4 separate regions of the Homo sapiens genome follow, and regions 1, 2 and 3 are each linked to region 4. The links are contacts of gene promoters, found by promoter capture Hi-C in blood cells and fetal thymus (Javierre and others, 2016). All regions are on one chromosome and are shown on one strand. Each heading gives the region's core, a stretch centred on a gene start or on the middle of the fragment in contact. The rest is flanking DNA. Distances are from core to core; before and after follow the strand shown.

The links. Contacts are between HindIII fragments. The CHiCAGO score rates a contact against its expected background, and 5 or more counts as called.
Region 1: a contact is called between a fragment that was not itself captured here and the fragment with the promoter of TCP1 in region 4, in 4 of 17 cell types (fetal thymus, neutrophils, M2 macrophages and 1 more). The highest score is 6.8, in fetal thymus.
Region 2: a fragment that was not itself captured here is called in contact with the fragment with the promoter of TCP1 in region 4 in 8 of 17 cell types (neutrophils, monocytes, erythroblasts and 5 more); the score reaches 9.5 in neutrophils.
Region 3: a contact is called between a fragment that was not itself captured here and the fragment with the promoter of TCP1 in region 4, in 6 of 17 cell types (neutrophils, total B cells, naive B cells and 3 more). The highest score is 12.4, in neutrophils.

What each region holds. Positions count from the first base shown.
Region 1 is chr6:160,046,038-160,048,737 of GRCh38, reverse strand. It overlaps IGF2R (insulin like growth factor 2 receptor), which reads right to left. Exons shown (of 48, transcript NM_000876.4): 15 at 2,093-2,240; 16 at 1,402-1,579; 17 at 831-946; 18 at 195-363. Among named protein-coding and RNA genes, the nearest start is that of AIRN, 40 kb to the right of the region's middle. The HindIII fragment of the contact is 479 bases long and covers 1,063-1,541 here.
Region 2 is chr6:160,098,500-160,101,199 of GRCh38, reverse strand. All of the region lies in intron 45 of IGF2R (insulin like growth factor 2 receptor), which reads right to left. Among named protein-coding and RNA genes, the nearest start is that of SLC22A1, 22 kb to the left of the region's middle. The HindIII fragment of the contact is 1,377 bases long and covers 643-2,019 here.
Region 3 is chr6:160,069,633-160,072,332 of GRCh38, reverse strand. It overlaps IGF2R (insulin like growth factor 2 receptor), which reads right to left. Exons shown (of 48, transcript NM_000876.4): 31 at 2,275-2,465; 32 at 297-423. Among named protein-coding and RNA genes, the nearest start is that of SLC22A1, 51 kb to the left of the region's middle. The HindIII fragment of the contact is 1,570 bases long and covers 506-2,075 here.
Region 4 is chr6:159,788,283-159,791,047 of GRCh38, reverse strand. It overlaps TCP1 (t-complex 1), which reads left to right and starts at 1,446. Exons shown (of 12, transcript NM_030752.3): 1 at 1,446-1,643. The coding sequence starts at 1,580. It overlaps MRPL18 (mitochondrial ribosomal protein L18), which reads right to left and starts at 581. Exons shown (of 4, transcript NM_014161.5): 1 at 409-581; 2 at 1-108. The coding sequence starts at 460. RefSeq lists enhancers at 394-453, 484-663, 920-1,583, 1,584-2,248. The HindIII fragment of the contact is 4,019 bases long and covers 1-2,765 here.

The DNA.
Region 1 (2,700 bases), core at 53-2,552, 260 kb before region 4:
CAATGATTCCTGTGTGACACACTTCTGCTCCTACAGGAGGCAGATGAGTTCACATGGAGGCCCCACTCCTACTCAGAGGGTTTCTCTCGAGCAGCTGTGCTGCCTTTGATCTGGATGTCCCAGAATAACCACCTCCTCCCACTAAGTCATGGAATTAGGAGGGCAAAGGAGACAAGCAGTGAAAACAGATTCACCTGATCTTTTTCATACTTCATCTGGCAAGCCGATGCATATCGGTTGCAGCCCGGCACTGGATTCAGAGGCCGACACACGTTAATGTAGTATTTCCTCCACGTGACATGTTCCCCTGAGTTGTCCATGGCATACCAGTTTCCTCCAAGGCCACCTTCAGATTTTGCCAGACTAAAATTTCAAAGCAAAATGTATATGCTTTTAAAGAGCTTACACATTTCAGTCTCATTTATTTCTATGTAGTTGGGGAAGTAAAGCTACCAAATAAAACATGCTCCACCAATCACACTACCAGGAGTTGGCTTGTCTGGGCGCATGACGCACCAGGATTACACTCCACCTTCGCTGAACTCAGTATGCAGTGGACCTTAACTGTCCCCCGTGCCTCTGCACTGACAGTCATTGTTTTAAATGATGAAGCTAAAGGCCGAGGCTCTGCTGTGGCCAAGACTGGTTGCTATCCCAAAGGCGACCAGACAGTTATTAGAATTCACTCTGCTGAAAATGCCCCACCTTGGTCCTGCAGCCCCACAGCCAGCATCACTCCCCATCATCAGCTCAGTCACACGCTCACCAGCAACACTTGCAACCTCAGCATCTGTACCAGGCCAAAAACAGAGCAGCTGACTCTGCCTCACCTGGAGAGGTCGTACTGCTCCAGCGTGGAGGGGTCGGTCACTACGCATTCCAGGGGCTCCTCCGGGCAGGCATAGCTGGTGTACCACCGGAAGTTGTAGGTGGAGTTATCCTCTTCCTAATCCACGGCAGATGCGCGGAGGGATGGCAAAAAGAGAAAGACACGTGACATAAAACCAGGATTCAAAAAAGGACGAGAGCAATGTTCCCAATGAGAAACTGTGAAGAAAAGCTTAGTCTGCCCATCTCCCTTCATTTTATTAAAAAGAAGACTGTCCAGTAACAAATCAGGATGAAAATTTAGCCTCTGCTAAGTGGGGGTTAATTCAGGATTTTTTTTTATGCTTTTGTATGTTTTGTACCCAAAACTGACAGGCTTGTGGGCTGTTATTAAGGTGCACAACCCACTAAATAAACAGCTTAAAATACTAATACTGCCCAGGCACCCTGGCAAATCTAATGACGGTGATGATTTGGCTGGAAACCCAGACTGATACAAGCTCTGCTTAAATGAAAGGCCCACCACAGGCATGAGTATCCTCAGGGAGCGCGATGAGGAACAAACATTCCTACCTGATATTCAGGGAAGCCCACTCCCGCGTCTCGATCACAGAGAAAGGTGATGAGCGTAGCTCTCGGTGTGTGTCTTTCATTGTTATAGGGTGTGCCGCCTCTGTAGTTCAGTTGGATCATCCCATCATAATATGAAAGCTTCGCATTACTCAGACCCAAGTTCCAAGTCTTCTCATCACTGAAATAAACACACGTTTCTCTCAGCAAAGACCTGAGGGGCAGAAGCACTCCAAGGCTGCCACACTGAAGGGAGGGCCCGTGAGCGACGTGAGGAGTCACCAGAACCAGGCCCGGGCTGCAGACCACAGGAACCCACACAAGGTCTCCAACGGCAGCAGGAACACTGGGACCCAAATCTCCTCTTGGCACCGCTGGTTTAGACAACTCACTTCATTTGAACTGCAGTTACGCAGAATGCAGAAATACGCACAGAGATATCTAGGCACTGAGAAGCACAAAATGCGCAATAGTGAGGCATAACCTCAATCCACCCTTCTTTCCCAAGGATGGGCCTGCTCCTTTCTCTGGGAAATTAAACTCCTAACATCCTTCAGTTTTCAGACCAGGTCTCATCAGTATTTAAATGCTTGTCATAAAGCAATGACATTAAGTGAGAACACACCTATTCCTGAAAATAATATTTCTTAGCATATAATGCCTAAGAATGAAACAGAACTGAGAAGCTACTTGCCTTTTTGCCACCTGGCAGGCTCCTGAGTCTGGCTGACAGGGGCTCACAGACACCGGGCCACACACATTTATATAAAAGTCATACTTCTTTGTCTCAACTTTATAGGCACCATTTTTCTTTGTGAGAGGTGATAAGTCAAAAGAAAACCCTAAGAAAGAATAAAAACAATAAAAGTATGGAAGGTCAGTCCGACAGTTAACAGAGTGGTCTCACCCCACAGTTTGAAAGGGAGAGGTTCTTCCCAGGAGGTTCCCAACGGCAGGAAGAAGTGGAGGAGGCAGAAGAGACGCTGCCCCTTGAGGCCACCAGAACCGCGATTACTAACATTTTCCTTGGAGATGGATCCAACTCCACCATTCCCTTCTACTGGGTTAGCCTAAAGCGCTATTCAAAGCCCATAACTGCTGGGCTAATAAACAACAGCATGTTCAAAGTAGGACGAGCATGATATTATGGCCTTCTTGTAAGGTCTCCCTCAGAGAGGTTTCTTGCCTAGAATTCACACGAAAGCCTTTTCAAACATAATTTATTCCCTTGTGTTCCGAAGGTTTTGCATTCAGCAAAACCACCTCAATAATGAATTTAAGATAGTATTTTCAGTATCTCAA
Region 2 (2,700 bases), core at 82-2,581, 310 kb before region 4:
GTTTTAGTCTTCAAACGTATTTCTATTTTTCAGTTGTTTGTTCTTGGTTCCTAACTTAATTGCATCATGTATGTAGTTAATTGCATCAGTCAGAAATCTGCTGACTTAGGCCGAGCACAGTGGCTCATGCCTGTAATCCCAGCACTCTAGGAGGCTGAGGCAGGTGGATCACCTGAGGTCAGGAGTTTGAGACCAGCCTGGCCAACATGGTGAAACCCCATCTCTACTAAAAATACAAAAATTAGCCAGGAGGTAGTGGCACACGCCCATAATCCCAGCTACTCAGGAGGCTGAGGCATGAGAATCACTTGAATCTGGGAAGCAGAGGTTGCAGTGAGCCAAGATCGCACCACTGCACTCCAGCCTGGGCAAAAGAGCAAGTCTCTGTCTCCAAAAAAAAAAAAAAAAAAAAAAAAAAAAAAAAAAAAAAAAAAAAAAAAAAAAAAAAAAAAAAAAAAAAAAAAAAAAAAAAAAAGGGAAATTGCTGACTTGCCTGCTTTGTGGTTAATTTTTGCTAAAGTTTTCTAAGTGTTTGATGTAAGCTTGGGCAAACAGTGTTCTCCCAACGCAGGGAACAGTGTTCTGCGCATGTCTATTAAATCTTGCTTTTCACTGTGCTGTCTCAATCTTCCAAAAAAAGCTTTACTCTTTGTCTACTCAACCCAGCAATCACTAGGCTTGTTTCTTGTGTGTGGTTTTGTCAATTTCTGCTTTACATATCAAGGCTTTTTTATTAGGTAGATGGAAGTTTAGGATTCTTGTATCTTCCTAGGAAATTAGCCCTTTTAAAATTATAATGACCCTCTTTATTCTTTATCCCTAATATTTTTCTTTAATATCCTATTTTATCTTATATTAACATAACTACTGCAGCTTTCTTTCAGATTATTTTCTGGTATATCTTTTCTTCTCCTTTGACTTTGGTCTTTTCTGTATCCTTGTTTTAGGCATGTTCCCTGTAAACAGAGTTGTTTTTGAAATCCAGTTTGACAACTTGTTTTTTAGCTGACAAGTTTAGTCAAGCTATACTTATGATTATAGATATATTTAGATTTATTTCTACCATACTGGGCTGAAATTTCTACTTATCTGATTTTTGTTTTATTTTTCTCCTTGCTTGTCTTCTTTGGGGATTTAAGTATTTTTACTTCTCCTTTTCTTCTCCGCTGTTTTGGAAGTTACATACTATATTTATATTATTTTAGTGGTTATTCTTAAAATACTGGCATGCATACTAAGACAGGAAGTCTAACAGTATGTCTTCCAAACAATTAGGAACTCTACCTTTTCTTCCTTCCTTCATTTCTTTCAAGAAAATGGTTTTACTTTCATATGATGCTATCACTGTAAGAAATTTTAAAAGCTGGGAACTCTGCCACCCCTCTCAGCTTAGACACCACTGTTGTCCAGTACAGTGTGTCCTCATAGGGTCGCTGACAGTTTCCTTCAAACTGCAACCTTCCGTGAAGCGACTATGGGAGGTCCTCGAATGACATCATTTCCTTCAAAACTGTCTCATTATAAAGTTGATGAGGCCGGGCACGGTGGCTCACGCCTGTAATCCCAGCACTTTGGGAGGCTGAGGCAGGCGGATCACAAGATCAGGAGATCGAGATCAACCTGGCTAACACGGTGAAACCCCGTCTCTACTAAAAATACAAAAAAATTAGCCGGGCATGGTAGCGGGCCCCTGTAGTCCCAGTTACTTGGGAGGCTGAGGCAGGAGAATGGCGTGAACCTGGGAGGCAGAGCTTGCAGTGAGCCGAGATCGCGCCACTGCACTCCAGCCTGGGCGAGAGCGAGACTCTGTCTCAAAAAAATAACATAACATAACATAACATAACATAACATAACATAACATAACATAAAGCTGAGGAAAAAAAACTGGTTTCATTATACATCATTTCACATAAAGTTGCAGTTTCCAAGAACCTATCGATGATATAAAGTGAGGATTTAAAGTATTTTAACCTTTCTTGAATTATTTTCTAATACAACAAATTAGCCTCCCCTAAAGCTTTTACAGTCTTTTCTTTGTATCTGCTCTCCTGGTATTTCATAAGTGGGTGGGTCTTGTCATCAATAACTGTGCTGGGCACATAGCCTGCCCCTTCCATCTGTAGATGCCTGTCTTTTAGCTTTGTGTAAATTTTTTGACTTTAATCAAATATTGTGAAAGAACCATTTTTGTAAAGTAGGAGGAAGGTGTAAGACAGCTCTATCTTCATCTACTATTGCAGGAAGTCAACAGATGAGATATAGGATGTTAATTTAAAATACTGAGGTAAATTCCAGAAGAAATAGCTAAAAGAACTAAAAATGGTAATCTATTAGGGCGAACATTGCTACCTGTTTGTTATAGTTACATGATTTTTTTTCCTGAGATCTAGTCTCGCTCTGTCACCCAGGCTGCAGTACAGTGACGCCATCTCGGCTCACTGCAACCTCCACCTTCCAGGTTCAAGCAATTCTCCTGCCTCAGCCTTCTGAGTAGCTGCGATTACAGGTGTGCACCACCACACCTGGCTAATTTTTGTATTTTTAGTAGAGACGGGGTTTCACCATGTTGCCCAGGCTGGTCTAGAACTCCTGACCTCAAGTGATCCGCCCACCTTAGCCTCCCAAAATGTTGGGATTACAAGCGTGAGCCACCGCGTCTGGCCATATTTACATGATTCTACAATGTACAACACTGATAAC
Region 3 (2,700 bases), core at 41-2,540, 280 kb before region 4:
AGAGCTGCTGGACTGACACTGTCAGTAACCCCAGTCAGGAGCACCTCTCACACCAGGAGAGTGACAGGAGGGATGGATTCTCTGTGGGAGCATTCTCTCCTCCACTGAAGGAGAGCCAGGAGAACACACAGCAGCCCATCCAGAGAAAGGCCAAACACACCCACACACCATGACACCTCTGCCCAGGGCGCCTGCTGCCCATAGCTTCTCTTTGGGTCTCTCCCCTGATGAGCTGGGTTTGGTGGGGGCACCGTCTCTCACCTGCGCTGGGGTTAACGACTGGCACCACCTCTCACCTGTGCTTGGGTTGGTGACCTGGCAGTCATCATGCTCGTTGCTCTTCATGGGACAGGCTGTGGCTGTGGGCCAGGCAAAGGTGTACTCACAGTCCTCCACGGCGCTGATGAACATGGGCCTGGAGTTCTACAACAAAGCACAGACAGGTCCTGAAGGGATCACGCAAAAACTCCATGTCTATCATGATTTCAACTTACAAGTGGAAGCTTCTCTGAAAAACTCCACAGCATGTGACATTTCTGTCTCCATGTGCCTGTGGGATGAGGCGCAGATTAGGAAAAGCAAAGGGTCAGAATGTGTCCTGAGCTGCCACCATGGGCTTCCCCTGCAGGTAAGTGAAACACCCACAGGCAGCAACACACTTAGGGGACCAGGAAGCTCCCTCAGGCTGAGGAACAGGACAGGGGTTGGGGACAGGCGTGCAAAGGATGCTGGAAGGGCTACAGGGAGACACAAATGTGTAAATCATTGATAAAATTCTAAAAACCAAATGAGGTAAAATCCATTATCACAGTCAAAACAAAAAGATATACCAAGAGAACTAGCCCATTCCACGCATCCTCCCACTGGCACCAGCCAAGGCTTACTCTGCTCATCTCAAAACGCTTCATGTCCACTGCAGAGTTAGCATGATGAGTTCAGCAGCACCTTCCTTCCCAGGTAAACCCCATGATTCCTGCTGGGCACCCTGATAAGCCACGCTGCAGTCCAGCCTCCCAGGCCCTGGGCACAGGGGCCTCGACACACCCCCACCCTTCCCTCCCAGCCTCCTGGGCCCTGGGCACAGGGGCCTCGACACACCCCCACCCTTCCCTCCCAGCCTCCTGGGTCTGGGGCACAGGGCCTCCACACACCCTTCACCTTTCCCTCCCAGCCTCCTGGGTCTGGGGCACAGAGGCCCCCACACACCACCCTCATCCTTCCCTCCCAGCCTCCTGGGCTCTGGACATGGGGAACCCCACACACCCCTTCACCCTTCCCTCCCAGCCTTCTGGGCCCTGGGCACAGGGGCCCCACACACCCTCTCACCTTTGCCCCCCACATGTGGGGCAGCCCTTTTGTCCTCGGCCATGAGCCTCTCAGGTCACAGAGGAGAATGCTCAGAGGCCCCAGCAGCTCATGAGTCTGGACTAAGCCTCTGCACAATCTTCCCAAGAGGAAACTTCCCTGCCGCTCCAGGCAAGAGGGCAGGCCTGAAGCTCCTGGAGCCCCCCATCCCAAGCTCCCCTACCACTGCTGCCCACCGCTGGAGAGCATGGGGCGAGCCACCCTGACACCCAGCGAGCTGGTCTTGCCCGAGTTAATGCCCAACTCAGCCACCGAGCTTGTCATGCACGCTAGCACTGGGGCTCACCACAATCTCACACACAGAAAAACCTGTATGCAGTCGACACCTGCTTACGTGCATGCCAAACAAGTAAGGGAAGAACTGATCACAGGCACTCATGCTCACTGACTGTGCATCTCCCGTGTGTCAGAAATGACACCTGGCACTTCCTACCTCTTCTCTCGAAACCCTGCAATGGGCAGGACAAGTATGCCTCATGTTATGAACGGCTGAGCAGGGCAGACTACCTGAGTAATTAACCAAGTTATGTGGCTGGGAAGTGGCAGCGCTACCTGTGACCCGGGCCCAGCCAACCTTCTCGTGCTTCCCAAGCTGCCGCCGTGAAGACAAAAGGGCATGTAGTCAAACAACAATCTCCTCCACAGCCTTTAGGGGTCTGAGTCAAACTCTGAAGAGAACCAATTCTGAGTCGGGAACTGCCAGGCAAGCTTCTAAGGAGCCAGACAGCACGAGGGTTCCCCAGATTGCAGGCCGCGGCGACGCTGTTCCCCCAACCTCTGGTAAGGGCGCATCATCCCAGGCTCTAGAACTCGCATCCCAAGGCAGATGAGGACGTGCGGCTCACCGCCCTGCACATGGGCTCAATTCCCAAAGCTGCAACAGCAGAAGGTGCAGGAACAGTCCCTTACCACTTGGCTCTCGCTGCAGGTGAATCGGATGGTGGTTGACTTTTTCCGAATCCCATCTGGACATAAGTCGCCATCAACGTATTTCAGGACAATTATGCCATCTCTCCACTGAGGTCCGTCCCTTACCCTGCCGAGGTTCACGGGCTTGGAGCCACCCAGCAGACACGCGGCTGCTTCTGGAGGGCACGGCTCTGCAGCACCAGACACAAGAAAGAGTTGCCTTTAGTGACTCCCCAGGCTAGAACAGAACTTCATCAGGCAATAAATGTCACACACGCTGCAGAACTTCATACGCTTTCTAAGAGTCACTTCAAAATACCTGCTATTTCTTTCACATAAGTCAGATGACAATGACATCACGTTAGTTCTCACTCACTTACATGCTGTTTTGTCACAGATGGACTGGGGCAGGCGGGCGTGAGTGTA
Region 4 (2,765 bases), core at 197-2,696:
GGGGGTTCCGGTTGGTGAATTCTGGGGCGACAGCTTCATTTTCCACAGGGTCCACTTCAGGTTTCGCTGCCGGCTCGGAGCTGGTTGACAGGGCTGCGAACCTGCACCCTGGGCAACGGGAAAAACCGCACAGGGCTTAAAAATGACGGATATGGACAGCGCACGAACCCGCTCTAACGTCTATCCGCTTTTACACCCCCAATCTTTAGGCCCGAGGGGACGAAAAATACGTATGCCCACAGGGTGGAGTCAGCACTGACCCCGTCCTTAACTTCCTACTGTGGTCTTCGCAGTGCCGCGAGCTCTATTTCGATCCGGCACGTCGAATACAAAATAGAACCCGCACGTTCCAATGTACTGTGCAAGCCCAGGCGAGTGAGCTGGGAGAAGGGGGGCAAGACTAATTACCAGGGTTCCTGCAAACCGAGAACAACCCCCAAAACCGCGACCGAAGCGCCATCGCTGAGACGATCTCGGAAAAGCCTCGCCTCTTTTTCCTCACGGACGACTCAGTCGCTCGCCAGGAGCAGCCATATAAAGTCAGGGACAAGCCTTTGGCTGCTGTAGATCCCCAAACTCTCCACGCCAGACGCCACCGACCCGGAAGTAGCAAGTCCCCTGCCACTGAGTGGCCGAGAAGGCGATCTGTTATCCTTCATCGCCAATCATCGCTCACGTCGAGGGGCACGCAGGCCCTGGAGCCCACCAACCACCTCGTAGCTACGCCCAAGACCACGCTTGTTGCTTAAGTCCGGGGTCAAAGGCACACACCCCACAAAACCATGTTTGGGTTTTCTACTCGGAGAGCTTGGGCGGTCATCGACTGGTCCACACACACCCCACCTGGGCACCGCGTAGGAATAAGGCAGGGCAAGATGCAGTTTTCTCCTTAAAAAGGGTGGTTGTCTTCCTCGAACCAAAAATTTTCCCGTATGGCCCGCTGGAAAAACTGCCCCGTCCCACCCAGGTTCGCGCCCTTAAACTTACACTCCTGAGGCCTGGAGCAAAGCCGGCCGATCTGCCTCACGCTCCCCGAGCAGGGACAAGGAAAAGACACTAAACCTAAAACGCACGACTCGCTCAGAACCCCAACTCTAACTTGGAGAAGGGCCCGCCCCTCCAGTTACACCCCAGCTCCAAGCTCCACCCTTCTTACAACCTTTTCTAGAAGGCACTAGAATGGCCCACTGCGTCTGCGCAACATCGTTTGAGGCGAAGGTTCAACCTCTTCCCAGCGGTCCAACATCCGACTTCCGTTCTCCGCTTTCGCGCCCTTCCCATCGGCTATCTAATTGGACAAAAATGCCGACCCCGCCCCTTCCCCGGAGCCTCACTTCCGTCACAGTCCTGTTTCTCTCCCTGTTGTCCCTGCCTCTTTTTCCTTCCCGCCGTGCCCCGCGGCCGGGCCGGGGCAGCCGGGAAGCGGGTGGGGTGGTGTGTTACCCAGTAGCTCCTGGGACATCGCTCGGGTACGCTCCACGCCGTCGCAGCCACTGCTGTGGTCGCCGGTCGGCCGAGGGGCCGCGATACTGGTTGCCCGCGGTGTAAGCAGAATTCGACGTGTATCGCTGCCGTCAAGATGGAGGGGCCTTTGTCCGTGTTCGGTGACCGCAGCACTGGGGAAACGATCCGCTCCCAAAACGGTAAGGGCGGGCCGGGCCTGGGTCGGGTTTGCGGCCGGGGAGGGCCGAGTCCCACCGCGACCGGACCCCGGCTGCCCTCGTTTCTCTCCTTTACCTCCGCAGAAAGGGCCTCGGGGCCCCGCAGCCGGACCCAGCCCACCCGCCGTTCTCTGGGGCAGGGCGCTGTGGCCCCACTTTTCCCACAGCGAGGAGGAGCCCCGCCGCGCGCGGCAGGGTTTTGAGACCGGCAACGCGTGGATGTGGTGTCCGGGGCGGCGTTGGAAACGCGCCCTCCGCGGGAAAGCGGGCCTCCCGGGCTCGCACGTGCGGGCCACGCCTCGCACCCCCTTTTGTTTCAGGGCGACCCCCTGAGTGTCCATGTTAAACGCCAGGTTTTATTTTAGGACCATTTACCAGAAAAAGAGTAGGTCCATCCGCGCGCCCTCGGATGAGCCCGGTGCCCTGTCCGCCCGCAGCTGCAGTCGAGGTCGGGCGTCCGGCGTCCAGCCGTATCCGGGTTGACAGCTTCTTACAGTAGAGTTAGCCCAGGAAACGCCACTCGAGTGCATTGACCCCAGGAGACGGCAGCGCTAACTTAGCAGAGCGTTTGCTGTCAGGCCTTTGGATACCTACAGAGCTTACTGTTTCTTGATAGATTCCTAATTTTTTTCGTAAACAAATCTGAAAGTCACCACCTTCCCCGTTGACTACCGATTTCTCTCCTCACAGATAAAGAGAGTTTTAATGAGCAAAAAACTTGCAGAATCTGAAGGAAAAGGCTGGTATAGCTGTACGAAGTGGCAGAGCATGAAATTGGTGGTTATTACTTTTTTTTTTTTTCCCCGCCATCAGATTCCACCCCGCATCAAAGCTGTGCCAAATAGGCTCGCTTTGTTTAGGGACAGGGTCCCACCTGTCGCCCAGACGAGAGTGCCATCATAGCTCACTGCATTCTCCAAGCACAGGTCCGCGCCGCCGCATCCGGCTTTGTTTTTATTTTTTGTAGAAATGGGTTTCGCTATGTTGCCCAAAGGGGTCTCAAACTCCTGGCATCAAGCGATCCTCCTGCCTCGGCCTCGCAGTGTTGGGATTACACCTGTGAGCCACAGTGTCTGGCCCCATTTACACTCTTAGTAGGTGGTT